2 separate regions of the Homo sapiens genome follow, and region 1 is linked to region 2. Evidence: promoter capture Hi-C in human tissues and cell types (Jung and others, 2019). All regions are on one chromosome and are shown on one strand. The core of a region is centred on a gene start or on the middle of the fragment in contact, and the rest is flanking DNA. Distances in the headings are between cores, read along the strand shown.

Region 1 (6,398 bases), core at 2,274-4,773, 41 kb before region 2:
GTGACAGAGCGAGACTCCGTCTCAAGAAAAAAAAAAGAAAAAGAAAAATTCCATCGTAACCATTTGTAAATGAACAGTTCATTGGCATTTAAAATATTCAAATTGTTGTGCAACCATCACCATCAACCATCTCCAGAACTCTTTTCATCTTGCAAAACTTGAAATTCTGGACTGGGCATGGTGGCTCACCCCTGTAATCCCAGCACTTTGGGAGGTCGAGGTGGGCGGATCATGAGGTCAGGAGTTCGAGACTAGCTTGGCCAACCTGTGAAACCCTGTCTCTATTAAAAATACAAAAATTAGCTGGGCATGATGGCAGGCGCCTGTAATCCCAGACTCAGGAGACTGAGGCAGAAGAATCATTTGAACCTAGGAGGCAGAGGTTGCAGTGAACCAAGATCACACCATTGCACTCCAGCCTGGGTGACAGTGTGAGGCTCCATCTCAAAAACAAAAACAAAAACAAAACAAAAAAACTGAAATTCTGTACTCACTAAAGAATAGTTTCCTGTTTCTCCCTCCCCCATCCCCTGGTAACCATCATTTTACTGTCTCTATGAATTTGAGTGCTCCAGGTAACTCTTATAAAGGGAATCATACAGTATTTGTCTTTTTGTGACTGGCTGATTTCAGTTAGCATAACTTTTTCAAGGTTTATCCATGCTGTAGCATGTATATGAATTTCCTTCCTTTTTAAGGCTGTATAATATTCCATTGTATGTATATGCCACATTTTGTTTATCCTTTCATTCATTGGTGGATACTTGGGCTACTTCCAGCTTTTGGCTATTGTGAATTAATGCTACTTTGAACATGACTGTACAAATTTTTTTTTTTTGAGACAGTCTTGCTCTGTTGCCCAGGCTGGAGTGCAGTGGCTTGATCTCAGCTCATTGCAACTTCCATCTCCCAGGTTCAAGCGATTCTTGTGCCTCAGCCACCTGAGTAGCTCGGATTACAGGCGCATGCCACCACGCCCAGCTAATTTTTGTATTTTAATAAGAGATGGGGTTTCAACATGTTGGTCAGGCTGGTCTCAAACTCCTATCCTCAAGTGATCTGCTTGCGCTGGCAGATTTGTAATCCCAAAATGCTGGGATTACAGATGTGAGCCACCACACCTGGGCTTTTTTTCAGGCAGGGTCTCACTCTGTTGCCCAGGCTGGAGTGTGGTGGCATGCTATCAACTCACTGCAGCCTCAAACTCCCCGGCTCAAGTGATTCTCCTGCCTCAGCCCCCAAGTTGCTGGAACAACAGGTACGTGCCACCATGCTTGGCTTATTTTTGTATTTTTGGTAAAGACGGAGTTTCGCCATGTTGCCCAGGCTGGTCTTGAACTGCTGAGCTCAAGTGATCCGCCTGGCCTCCCAAAGTGCTGGGATTACAGGCGTAAGCCACCGTGCCTGGCCTGTCACAAATATTTTGATCTCATTTAATTATTCACTTGAGTTTTAGTAATACCATTTCTTGCCTTTAGTAGTATTCATTAATCTATTTAAAAAGCACGAGTATCTACAACTGTGATATTGCTTATATTTACAAGGCTTATATCTTCTTAAGGTAGACAGATATTAACATTAAGGTAGGGCCAGGCACATGGTGGCTCATGCCTGTACTATCACCTACACAGGAGGCTGAAGAGGGAGGATTAATTGAGCCCAGGACTTTGAGACCAGCCTGGGCAACATAGTAAGACCCCATATCTACAAAAACTTAAAAATTAGCCGTGCATGGTGGTGCACACCTGTAGTCCCAGCTACTTGGAGGGCTGAGATGGGAGAATAGCTAGAGCCAGGGAGGTTGAGGCTGCAGTGAGCTGTAATCATGCCACTGCACTCCAGCCAGGGTGGCAGAGTGAGATCTTGTCTCTAAATAAAAACATTAAGGTAGAACGAAGTAAGTGTAATAATAGAAGTATTGTGGAGAGGGAGTGTAAGAGGAACAATTAATTTTCACTGTGTGCATTCCAGTGTTAAGTGGCTCTTCCAGATCAGAATAAACCCCTAGTCTCTGCTGGTGGCTTTCCTGATACTCCTGACCACTTCTTCTGGACAGGGCATTCTTCTAGGAGTTGAAATTTCTGAAGTAGAAAAGCCATGGCTATTCCAATCTAGGTTGAAACTAAAAAATGACAAAATACTTTTAAAACCATCAGTAACAAAATTTAAGCTCTTGGCTATAAAGGAACTTCATTTTCAAGGCCATAATCGTTTAATTTAGCATAGGTTCGTATCTTCATCCTTCCTCCCCCAGTAATTTTACAAATGCTTAGTGTTTCTTAGTCATTTCTTATTTTTTGGTGTTCCTGTTGAATTGAATTGAAAAAATACCTGGCTTTTTCAACTGGTAGGCAGTCTGGTCTGTGGTGAATAGAGGAAGTCACAAGTATGGCCAGCTTTCGTTGGCAGCTGATTATTGTCAGTGATGGGATTTCTATGAAGTAACTACATTGAGTAAGGTTACATTTTTAGCTGATTTCTTCCTAGGGCATCATATTCTGTAGTACTTCTGCATAGCAGCACCAGAGGGTAGGCTGTTTTGACATATTAAGTGATGTAATTTTGTTTAAGTTAACATACAAACATTGTGGATTTAAAGAGGTTTCAGGCCACGTGTGGTGGCTCATGCCTGTAATCTGAGCACTTTGGGAGGCCAAGGCAAGAGGATCATTTGAGGCCAGAAGTTCAAGACCAGCCTGGGCAACATAGTGAGACTTCATTCCTACAAAAAATTTTTTTAAAACTTAGCCAGGCATGGTGGCATGTGCCTGTAGTCCCAGCCACTTGGGAGGCTGAGGCATAAGGATCACTTGAGCCCAGGAGATCAAGGCTGCAGTGAGCTATGATTGTACCACTGCACTACAGCCTGGGCAACAGAGTGAGACCCTGTCTCTAAAAAATAAAGAAGTTCACATCCTAAAGCAAATCATAGAATCTAAAATATGTATTTTCCATGAAACATTTTTCAGTGAGACAGTTACTATTGTAATGGAATAGCATTACAAACCTTCATTACTAAGAAACTTTAAAGTTTCTTTATATGTGTATAGTGTCACTAGCCCCAAATTGTAGCTGTCAAGAACCTCCCAAAATATTTGAACTTCCTGTTTCTTTTTTTTTTTTTGAGACAGAGTCTCACTCTGTTGCCAGGCTGGAGTGCAGTGGCATGATCTTGGCTCACTGCAACCTCTGCCTCCTGAGTTCAAGTGATTCTCTTGCCTCAGCCTCCTGAGTAGTTGGGACTACAGGCACGTGCCAACACACCTAGCTAATTTTTGTATTTTTAGTAGAGATGGGGTTTCACCATGTTGGGCAGGATGGTCTCGATCTCCTGACCTCGTGATCCACCTGCCTCAGCCTCCCAAAGTGCTGGGATTACAGGCGTGAGCCACTGTGCCAGGTTACTTCCCGTTTCTTTAAGATAAATTTTTGTTATATTCTATTCAAAAGGCACTCCATTCACTTTTTTTACTCTTGTATTTAATCAGAAAAAAAAGTTTAGAAACAATGAATTTCATTATTTTGCTGAACGGGTAGCACAAAAACACAAAATACCTTCTTTTCTTTTTCTTTTTTTTGAAACAGTCTCACTCTGTCGCCCAGGCTGGAGTGCAGTGGCACAATCTCAGCTCACTGCAACCTCTGCCTCCTGGGTTCAAGCGATTCTCCTGCCTCAGCCTCCTGAGTAGCTGGGACTACAGGCTTGCTCCACCACGCCTGGCTAATTTTGGTATTTTTAGTGGAGATGGGGTTTTGCCATGTTGGCCAGGCTGGTCTTGAACTCCTGACTTCAGGTTATCCACCCGCCTCAGCCTCCCAAAGTGCTGGGATTACAGGCGTGAGCTGCTGCAACCAGCCTCTTTTCAAAATATATACACAATGTGGTATTGTAATTAATATTGTCTCTGTAAGAAGAATTTTGCCCAGGAGTAGCTATGACTAAAAGTTACGACCTTTTGAAATCACTGAATCAAGTATTAAAAAATATTCATCATTCCTAAATTATCCAGCACTACAAATACTTTTTACTTGCTACTAATCTTACTGCTTTCTGGAAAGACTAAAATTAGATAAAATAAACCCAAGAAAACTAAGCTACCTCCAAGTGGCCATATGCAATTATAGTAACAAGATACTTGGTTGCCTCACACCCATAATCAGGCTTAACATACACATCTGTAGCCAAAGTGACTTTGGGGCCCTTAGAACTCTCCTGAGTACCTGCTTTGGCCCGAAGGTGACACGGGAGCTTCTCCCTAGGCTGACACCAGAGATCTGGGTTGGAATTCCAGAGACAAGCAGGGCTGTCTGGCCCATTTGGCTGTATTCATCCCTTAGTCTATTTAGAATGGTTGAGGTATCTGAGGTATCTGAGTCAAAAGGCCCAGCTGATTATCCCACTCTAACCCCTGTGAAGACATACCATTGAAGTACTGGAGAGGAAGAGGGGTACTACCACTATTCTGTTTTTTCTGTCATTCTGACTTAAAAACAGGGAAACACCACTCACCAGTTACTATGGACCTGTCTTCATTATTAAGAAATGATGGCCATGACAATTTCTTAAGAAAATATTTTTATGGTATGATATAAAATAACTAACGTTACTCAATTCTCCCATAACTAGGTCACCAAATAAGTATCCATCCACACTGTGGATAATAGGAAACAATGGTGATTTCCAATCTTTCTATTTTATAGGGCTTTCATTAATGTTCAAAACAATTACCAGTGAGGATTTCCTGAAGAAGTACAGATTTCTGTCAACTTTCACCCTACATACTATATTCCAATAGTATTAGCTGAATGATTCTGGATAATTTTATATAATCTCAAGTCTTTAGTCTTGAGAATTTAAGGGCTTTGATATTGCTTCCTAGCCTAGTATAACCAAGCAAAAGATTATTAACTCTCAAAACACGCTGAATGATAAGACTTTTAATTTGGTAGACTTAATAGGCAAAGTCCCTATGAGTAGGCAAATCTGCATGTTGAGTTTTATTCCAGGTTCAGTTTTAGGTTCACTGTCTCTCTCTTTGATGAACACTGCACAAAGTTATTTGTATTACAGCTCCTTAAAGAAAGAGTACAAATTGTTTACGACTAGTTTTTTCATATACACGAAAAAGCACAATTATAATTTCTGTCCCACTCAGAAATTAATGGCAAACCCATAGTAACCTAATAAAGCTATTTTAACATGTGCTAAATAATTCTTTTATCTATACTGTTGTATTGATCAAATTATTTATATGCTCTTTAAAAATCTTTTATGAATTGAAAGCTATAACTCTCTCTCTTGAAGTCTGTCTGCATCACATAAGTATTGATCAGTCTTGGATGATTCATTCATAGCCGACTGTCTTCGTTGAGTGGTCTTCACAAATCTCAGCAGATTGATGATGGCGGCAGGTGTTACTCCGGGTATGCGACTAGCAGCCCCGATCTAAAAATCAATACCACAAGAGAAACTAAGTGAGCTATGCTATGTCAAATCAAATCTATTTTCCTCCAAATAACAATCTGTATAGTATAGTTTATACAATATTTTCTTAATTATTATTTTGATGTATTATCTTAACATATTTCCTTGTAAAGTAGATAAAGGAAATATTATTATTTATGTCTTCATTTTACAAATGGGAAACTGAGGCACAGAAATGTTAAAATAGCTTGTGCAAGATTACATAACTAATAGATGTTAGAGTATCTACTTTTTTGTCCCATTAAACTAAGAAAAACTGTAATCAAGTTCCTTTCTTCAAATACAGGTCCACAGTCCCTTATTTGAAATTCTTGAGGCCAGCCTGGGAAAAATAGTGGGACTCTGTCTCTACAGAAAATAAACAAAAATTAGCTTAGGATGGTGGTGCACACTTGTAGTACTAGCCTCTCAGAAAACAAAGGTGGGAGGATCACTTGAGCCTGGGAGGTCGAGAATGCAGTGAGCTGTGATTATGCCACTGCACTCCAGCCTGGGTGACAGAGTAAGCCCCTCTCTCAAAAAAATAAAATGAAATGAAATCCTTGAAGCCATATGTTTTTGTAATAAGATATATCTAATCCTTGAGGCGGTACCTAATGTAACAGCCTCAGCAGTGTGTGGGGCAGCGCCCCACATTTTTAATCCTATTAATATTTCTGCAGTGTATTTTTACAGTGAAATGTATGAATATTCACTCTGAACAGTATAAAGACCATATAGCCTCTTCTGAGCTGAGCTCAGTTTTGCTACCAAATGAGCTTGTGGCAAACTTCTGCCAGAGCCTTTTGTATTATAGAATTGTGGGCAAGGAGTTCTGAACTCCTATGACCAGTGCTGTCCAACTGAACTTTCTATGATGATGGAAATCTTCTATAACATGTGCACTGCAATAATGCAGTGTCCAATATGGTAG
Region 2 (6,673 bases), core at 646-3,145:
CACAGTTATGAGCTGAATGGTTATTTTAAAGAAGAATTTCAGGAATAAATAAGTGATTTATTCACAACTTTTACAAAACAAGTAAATATTCTAATTACTGCTCGCTCCTAAGCAAAAGGAAGGAGGAAAGACAAAAGTATACATAATTTACAAGTTGATGTTTTAGCTAGTATCTATCATGATGCTACAGAACGGCCATCCAACCATTACCCATTAGAGCAAAAAAAGTACTGTCCAGTACTAAACACAAAATCCAGGGACGACAACCCAGAAGGAATATAGGATGCAAAAGGTAGCATGGCGCTGGGCACGGTGGCTCATGCCTGTAATCCCAGCATTTTGGGAGGCCGAGGCGGGCGGATCACAAGGTCAGGAGATCGAGACCATCCTGGCTAACATGGTGAAACCCCGACTCTACTAAAAATACAAAGAAAAAAAAAATTAGCCGGGCGTGGTGGTGGGTGCCTGTAATCCCAGCTACTCGGGAGGCTGAGGCAGGAGAATGGCATTAACCCGGAAGGCGGAGCTTGCAGTGAGCCGAGATGGCGCCACTGCACTTGAGCCTGTGTGACAGTGCAAGACTCTGTCTCAAAAGAAAAAAAAAAAAAAAAGGTAGCATGGTTCTTCCAAAAGGCATCACAAAATCTTGACAGAAACACAAAGATCAGGCTGGGCAGAGTACTGAGCACCTGCAATCCCAGCTACTGGTTAGGCAGAGGCAGGAAAAGTTCTTGAGTCCAGAAAGCGGAGCCTGTAATGTGCAACGATCGTGCCTATGAGTAGTCACTGCACTCCAGCCTGGGCAACATGGCGAGACCCTGTCTCTAAAAAAATGTTTTTAAATAAAAACACAAGAACCGTTTAATAAAGGATTTTTTTATTTTATTAATATTATCATTATTTTGAGACGGAGTTTTGCTCTTTTGCCCAGGCTGGAGTGAAGTGGCGCAATCTCGGCTCACTGCAACCTCTGCCCCCGGGTTCAAGCGATTCTCCTGCCTCAGACTCCCGAGTAGCTGGGATTATAGGCGCCCGCCACCATGCCCGGCTAATTTTTGTATTTTTAGTAGAGACGGGGTTTCGCCGTGTTGGCCAAGCTGGTCTCAAACTCCTGACCTCAGGTGATCCACCTGCCTTGGCATCCCAAAGTGCTGGGATTAAAGAAGTGAGCCACTGCACCTGGCCATAAACCATTGTTAATAATGTTAATTCACCCTTTATCTGGAGTAACATAGTAGAAGGTAAACGCAGCAATGAACTAAGAAGCTACCAGCGAGTAGTTGGTAGCTCCCTTTCCCAAGGCACTGACCCCGAACCCCAACCTCCTACAACGGACGACTGTCAGCAGCAGCATAATCTATGGTTCGCAGAATAGACTAATATAGAGTTCTGGCCTGGCCCGCCTGATCCTTGCGAGACACTGATCGAGGCTAAAACCACAGAAGGTAGGATTCTCACTAGCTTTGAGGAAAGGAAGAGGTCCCCCGCTTCAGACCGGGGGAGGCGGGAAGGAAGCAGCCTGCGTCCTACGCCAAGTTCCACAGCACCCGCGCTCCTCACCGATCGTGTCCACGCGGTGAGTGAGGAGCAGAGTCCGAGAGCCGCACCGAGCGGCGGCGGTGGCTGCCTCAGTCCCGGCATGTCCTCCACCAATGACTATCACGTCGAAGTGCGGAGTCCGGGGCGCCGCGCTGTCACTGCTCAACCGTGCCAACGGAAATTGCTGCTTGGTGAAGGAAACCGCGACCCAACGGCCACAGCCTCGGAAGTAGAACATGCTGGGAGAAAAATCTATCTGACTTTGAAGCTGACACGAGTGACGGTCAAAAAAACTTACGCAACAAGAGACAATCTGCAGGGCGCGGCCATCTTGCTTTAATATCACGGGGTAGGACGTCTACGTCCAGCGTCGCCGCTGATTGGCGGTTTGGAGCTACTTTCCTGGTGAGGGAGATGGGTGATCGCACGGAGGGCCGGTTGTGTATTTTCTTTCCTAGTTCGTGCGGGCTTTTTTTATTATTATTATTTTTTATTTTTATTTATTTATTTATTTATTTATTTATTTATTTATTTATTTATTTATTTATTTATTTATTTTGAGACAGAGTCTCGCTCTGTTGCCCAGGCTGGAATGCAGTGGCGCGATTTCGGCTCACTGCAAGCTCCCCCTCCCGGGTTCGCGCCATTCTCCTGCCTTAGCCTCCGAGTAGCTGGGGCTACAGGCGCCCGCCACTACGCCCGGCTAATTTTTTGTATTTTTAGTAGAGACTGGGTTTCACCGTATTAGCCAGGATGTTCTCGATTTCCTGACCTCGTGATCCGCCCGTGCGGGCTTTTTTTGATTTCCTGTGGTTCTGGGTTGGGAGCTCCTACTAAAGGTCATCTTTTGTACTTTCTTAGGCCCTGCAGTCCTTATCGCCAGGTGGCCACCTACGATCAATGAATTTGATCACTTTGCCTTATCAGATCTTTGTGATCTGACAATCTGATACACCGTCACCTTCTGTTTGTCTATAAAAACTAAGGGCTGAAAATAAGAATAGATTCGGGCCGGGCGCGGTGGCTCACGCCTGTATTCCCAGCACTCTGGGAGGCCGAAGCAGGTGGATCACAAGGTCAGGAGATGGAGACCATCCTGGTCAACATGGTGAAACCCCATCGCTACTAAAAAAAAAAAAAAAAAAAAAAAAAAAAAAAATTAGCCGGGAGTGGTGGCATGCACCTGTAATCCCAGCTACTCAGGAGACTGAGGCAGGAGAATCGCTTGAACCTGGGAGGCCGAGGTTGCAGTGAACCAAGATTGTGCCACTGCACTCCAGCCTGGGCGACAGAGCAAGACTCCGTCTCAAAAAAAAAAAAAGAAAAAGAAAAGAAAAAGAATAGATTCGAAAGGAGTTCAAATATATTTGTGGACTGAAAGATTCATGATGGTGCCTGGGCATGGTGGATCACGCCTGTAATCCTAGCACTTTGGAAGGCCGAAGGGGGCAGATTGCCTGAGCTCAGGAGTTCGAGACCAATCTGGGCAACATGGTGAAACCCCGTCTGTACTAAAATACAAAAAAAAAAATTAGCCAGGTGTGGTGGCATGCACCTGTAGTCCCAGCTACTTGGGCGGCTGAGGCAGGAGAATTGCTTGAACCCGTAGGCAGAGGTTGCAGTGAGCCGAGATCGTGCCACTGCACTCCAGCCTGGCGACAAGAGTGAGACTCTGTCTCAAAAAAAAAAAAAAGAGAGAGAGAGATTCATGATGGCTAATTGGTTAATTAGAAGAATCGGTTGGTTGGAGGTTAAATGTCCAGCCTTTTGGAATTCACAGCCTTTCTCAATTCACAGCCTTTCTCAGAAAGGCAACGTTTGACTGGAGAATAAAACAAGTGTGGTATTGCAGGATCTGGCCAGCAGCCCACAATGCAATGGGGCTCTTTCTTTGTTCCCAGGCGGATTGGCAGGTCGAGAAATAATAGACACACAGAAGATATTGAAAGCTGGGTCCAGGGGGGTCACTGCCTTCTGGTCCTGCAATGCTGCTAATACACTGGATATACCAGCATTTATTATTAAGTTTAGTGAGGGCAGGGGTAGGTTAGTGAGGGATTTAGGGTCATTTGATTATGAGGTGAGATGGTCACATGGGGATGAAGTAATTCTTTAACATAACATCTGTATGCAGAAGTACAGTATACAGAGATAAGAATTTACAATATATTGTGTGCATCAGTAATTTCTAACAGAGCCTTAAAACAGAAACAGTCTTTCCATAACCTATGATTAGCAAGATATTAATCAGCAGTAACAGTTGCAGCAAAAGCTGGTTACAAACAATCCATAGAAACAGGATGTGAAGCTAGACAATCAGTTAGACCAGAAATTCTCAGAAGGGAGTATGCCTTAACCCTAAAAAGGCCTAGAAGAGCCGTGGCAAGATGAGGGCATTTATAGCCCTATCTTACCCACAGGGACAGGCGCCCCTCATGCGTCCGTTTAGAGGCTTTCCACAAGGGTTGCATTCCATTCCCAGAGCTATGAACATCTGCTTTTCTGGGATAGGAATCTTGGTGATGCACGTCCGTTCATAGGCTCTCTGCAGGGGGAAGCACATCACCCGCTGTTGGCTCATTCTGGCAGTCCAACCTGGCATTCTCTTTACACAATCCTGCATGCAACTTTGTATTTACAATAATCAGGAGCATTTCATCTTTTATTCCGTAGCAATAGTTTCAGGGGTCTCCCTACAGTGTGGCAGTTTTATTGTTCTAATTATAAAAAGTATTAAATACATAGGCCGGGAGTGGTGGCTCACACCTGTAATCCCAACACTTTGGGAGGCCAAGGTGGCGGATCACTTGAGTCCACCAGGAGTTTGAGACCAGCCTGGCCAATATGGCGAAACTCTATCTCTACTAAAAATAGAAAAATTAACCTGGCATGGTGCTGCGTGCCTGCAGTCCCAGCTACTCAGGAGGCTGAGGCAGGAGAATTGCTTGAACCCAGGAGGCACAGGTTGCAGTGAGCCCAGATGGTGCCATTGCACTCAAGCCTGGGTGACTGAGACCCTGTCTCAAAAAAACAAAACAAAAACCCTTAAAACAAAAAACAGTAAACATTATTTCTTTTCTTTATTTTTTTTTAATAGGATCTCCTTCTGTTGCCCAGGCTGGAGTGCAGTGGCGCTATCATGGCTCACTGCAACCTCCGCCTCCTGGGCTCAAGTGATCCTCCCACCTCCATCTCCCAAATAGCTGGGACCACAGATGTGGGTGGACACTAGGCCTGGCTAATTTGGTTTCTTTGTTGTTGTTTTTTGTTTGTTTGTTTGTAGACATGGGGTTGAGGGAGGGAGTGTCTCACTATGTTGCCCAGGTTGGTCTTGAACTCCTGGCCTAAAGCCTCCCAAAGTGCTGGGATTACAGGTGTGAGCCCTGCTCCCAGCCTATTTTTGATATTTTTTTCTTTAAATTTTTTTTTTCGCTTTCTGCAACTTCGGTTAAATATTTTTTAATAAAAATTAGATCATAGTGTGTGCATTGTTTTGTAATCTATTCTTTACTTAATAATCATGAACACTTTTCTATCCAAAAAAAATAACAATAAGACATAAGGAAACTCTAGATGATACCTTAGGGATGAGGGAAAGTATCCAAAAATTAAAGTGGGAAGGCGTTCATATCTCAAGTACAGAAAGCCTTTAGAAAGCATGTGCAGTGCAAAGTGGGGGGTTTACAGAGGAAGAAGCAGCTCTGTGTAGACCTCCTGGGCCACAGGTGGGCTTCACAGAGGGGCTTGCAAAAGGATCAGCTTCTGGGGTATGATTCTCTGGCCCAGGCAGCTGTATGCAGGCAAGGTGGGAATTTTAGTTTCTCTGTCTAGAAGGCTGTGGACAGGTTATAGATAGGTCAAGGCTCCAAAGTCACAGGGAGATCACTTTCTGGGCTTATGACTGAGGTAGGCTCTACCAGATGTTCTCATACCCAAGGCTGACTAGAGATAAACATGAGGCATACAGAGTAAGATGTAATCCCAGCATTTTGGGAAGCCAGTGTGGGCATATCACTTGAAGCCAGGAGTTCAAGACCAGCCTGGACAGCATGGTGAAACCTCATCTCTACTAAAAATACAAAAATTAGCCAGGGTGGTGGCGTGTGCCTGTAATCCCAGCTACTTGGGAGGCTGAGGTACGAATTGCTGCAATGAGCTGACATTGCACTGCTGCACTCCAGCTTGGGTGGCAGAGTGAGATGCTGTCTCAGAAAAAAAAAAAAAAAAGAAGTGGTAAAGTCAACTAGATAAAATATATACCCACAAATAAATTTCCTGGGGTTTCCTACTAGATAAAATCCAAGTTCCACATCAAGACTCAACTAAACAGTCATTTTCTCTGTGATTTGGACACTGATTGCTGCAGAAAGGTTGAATAAAGAATGAGTTCTCCTCCTTTGGTAGGCCAATAGTAGAGATATTTGATCTGGCCCAGTGGATTGTTGCTTGCAGCTTCTGGTTAAAGAAACCACCAGTGACTTAAGGGGACTTTAGAAACTGATGGAAGAGAGCATTTATTTTATTTTATTATTTTTTTTTTTTTGAGACGGAGTCTCGCTCTGTCTCCCAGTCTGGAGTGCAGTGGCGTGATCTCGGCTCACTGCAACCTCCGCCTCCCAGGTTCAAGCAATTCTCCTGCCTCAGCCTCCCATGTAGCTGGGACTATGGGTGCCGGCCACCACGCAAGGCTAATTTTTGTATTTTTAGTAGAGACCATATTGGTCAGGCTGGTCTCAAACTCCCGACCTCAGGTGATCCACCCACCTTAGCCTCCCAAAGTGCTGGGATTACAGGCGTGAGCCACCGCGCCCGGCTGAGAGCATTTATTTTTATGTATTTTTTTTTTGAGATGGAGTCTTGCTCTGTTGCCCAGGCTGGAGTGCAATGGCGCCATCTTGGCTCACTGCAACCTCCACCTCCCAGGTTCAATCAATCCTCCTGCCTCAGCCTCCGGAGTAGCTGGGATTACAGGGGCCCACCACCACGCCCATCTAATTTTTGTATTTTTAGTAGAGACAGGTTTCACCATCTCGCCCAGGCTGGTCTCGAACTCCTGACCTTGAGATCTGCCCGCCTCAGCCTCCCAAAGTGCTGGGATTACAGGAGTGAGCCACTGCACCCAGCCCGGAAGAGA

Evidence for each region. The method cuts DNA at HindIII sites, captures the fragments that hold promoters and counts their contacts. A contact is called where the count stands out against the background at its distance.
Region 1: a fragment that was not itself captured here is called in contact with the fragment with the promoter of MTO1 in region 2 in 1 of the 25 tissues and cell types used here (spleen).

The regions. Positions count from the first base shown.
Region 1 is chr6:73,499,622-73,506,019 of GRCh38, reverse strand. MTO1 (mitochondrial tRNA translation optimization 1) reads right to left here. Exons shown (of 12, transcript NM_012123.4): 12 at 1-5,446. The coding sequence ends at 5,285. Among named protein-coding and RNA genes, the nearest start is that of EEF1A1, 18 kb to the left of the region's middle. RefSeq lists a silencer at 2,267-2,467. The HindIII fragment of the contact is 9,056 bases long and covers 1-6,398 here.
Region 2 is chr6:73,456,959-73,463,631 of GRCh38, reverse strand. It overlaps MTO1 (mitochondrial tRNA translation optimization 1), which reads right to left and starts at 1,895. Exons shown (of 12, transcript NM_012123.4): 1 at 1,561-1,895. The coding sequence starts at 1,777. RefSeq lists enhancers at 1,355-1,404, 1,425-1,484, 1,555-1,884, 1,057-1,902 and a silencer at 2,335-2,394. The HindIII fragment of the contact is 26,494 bases long and covers 1-6,673 here.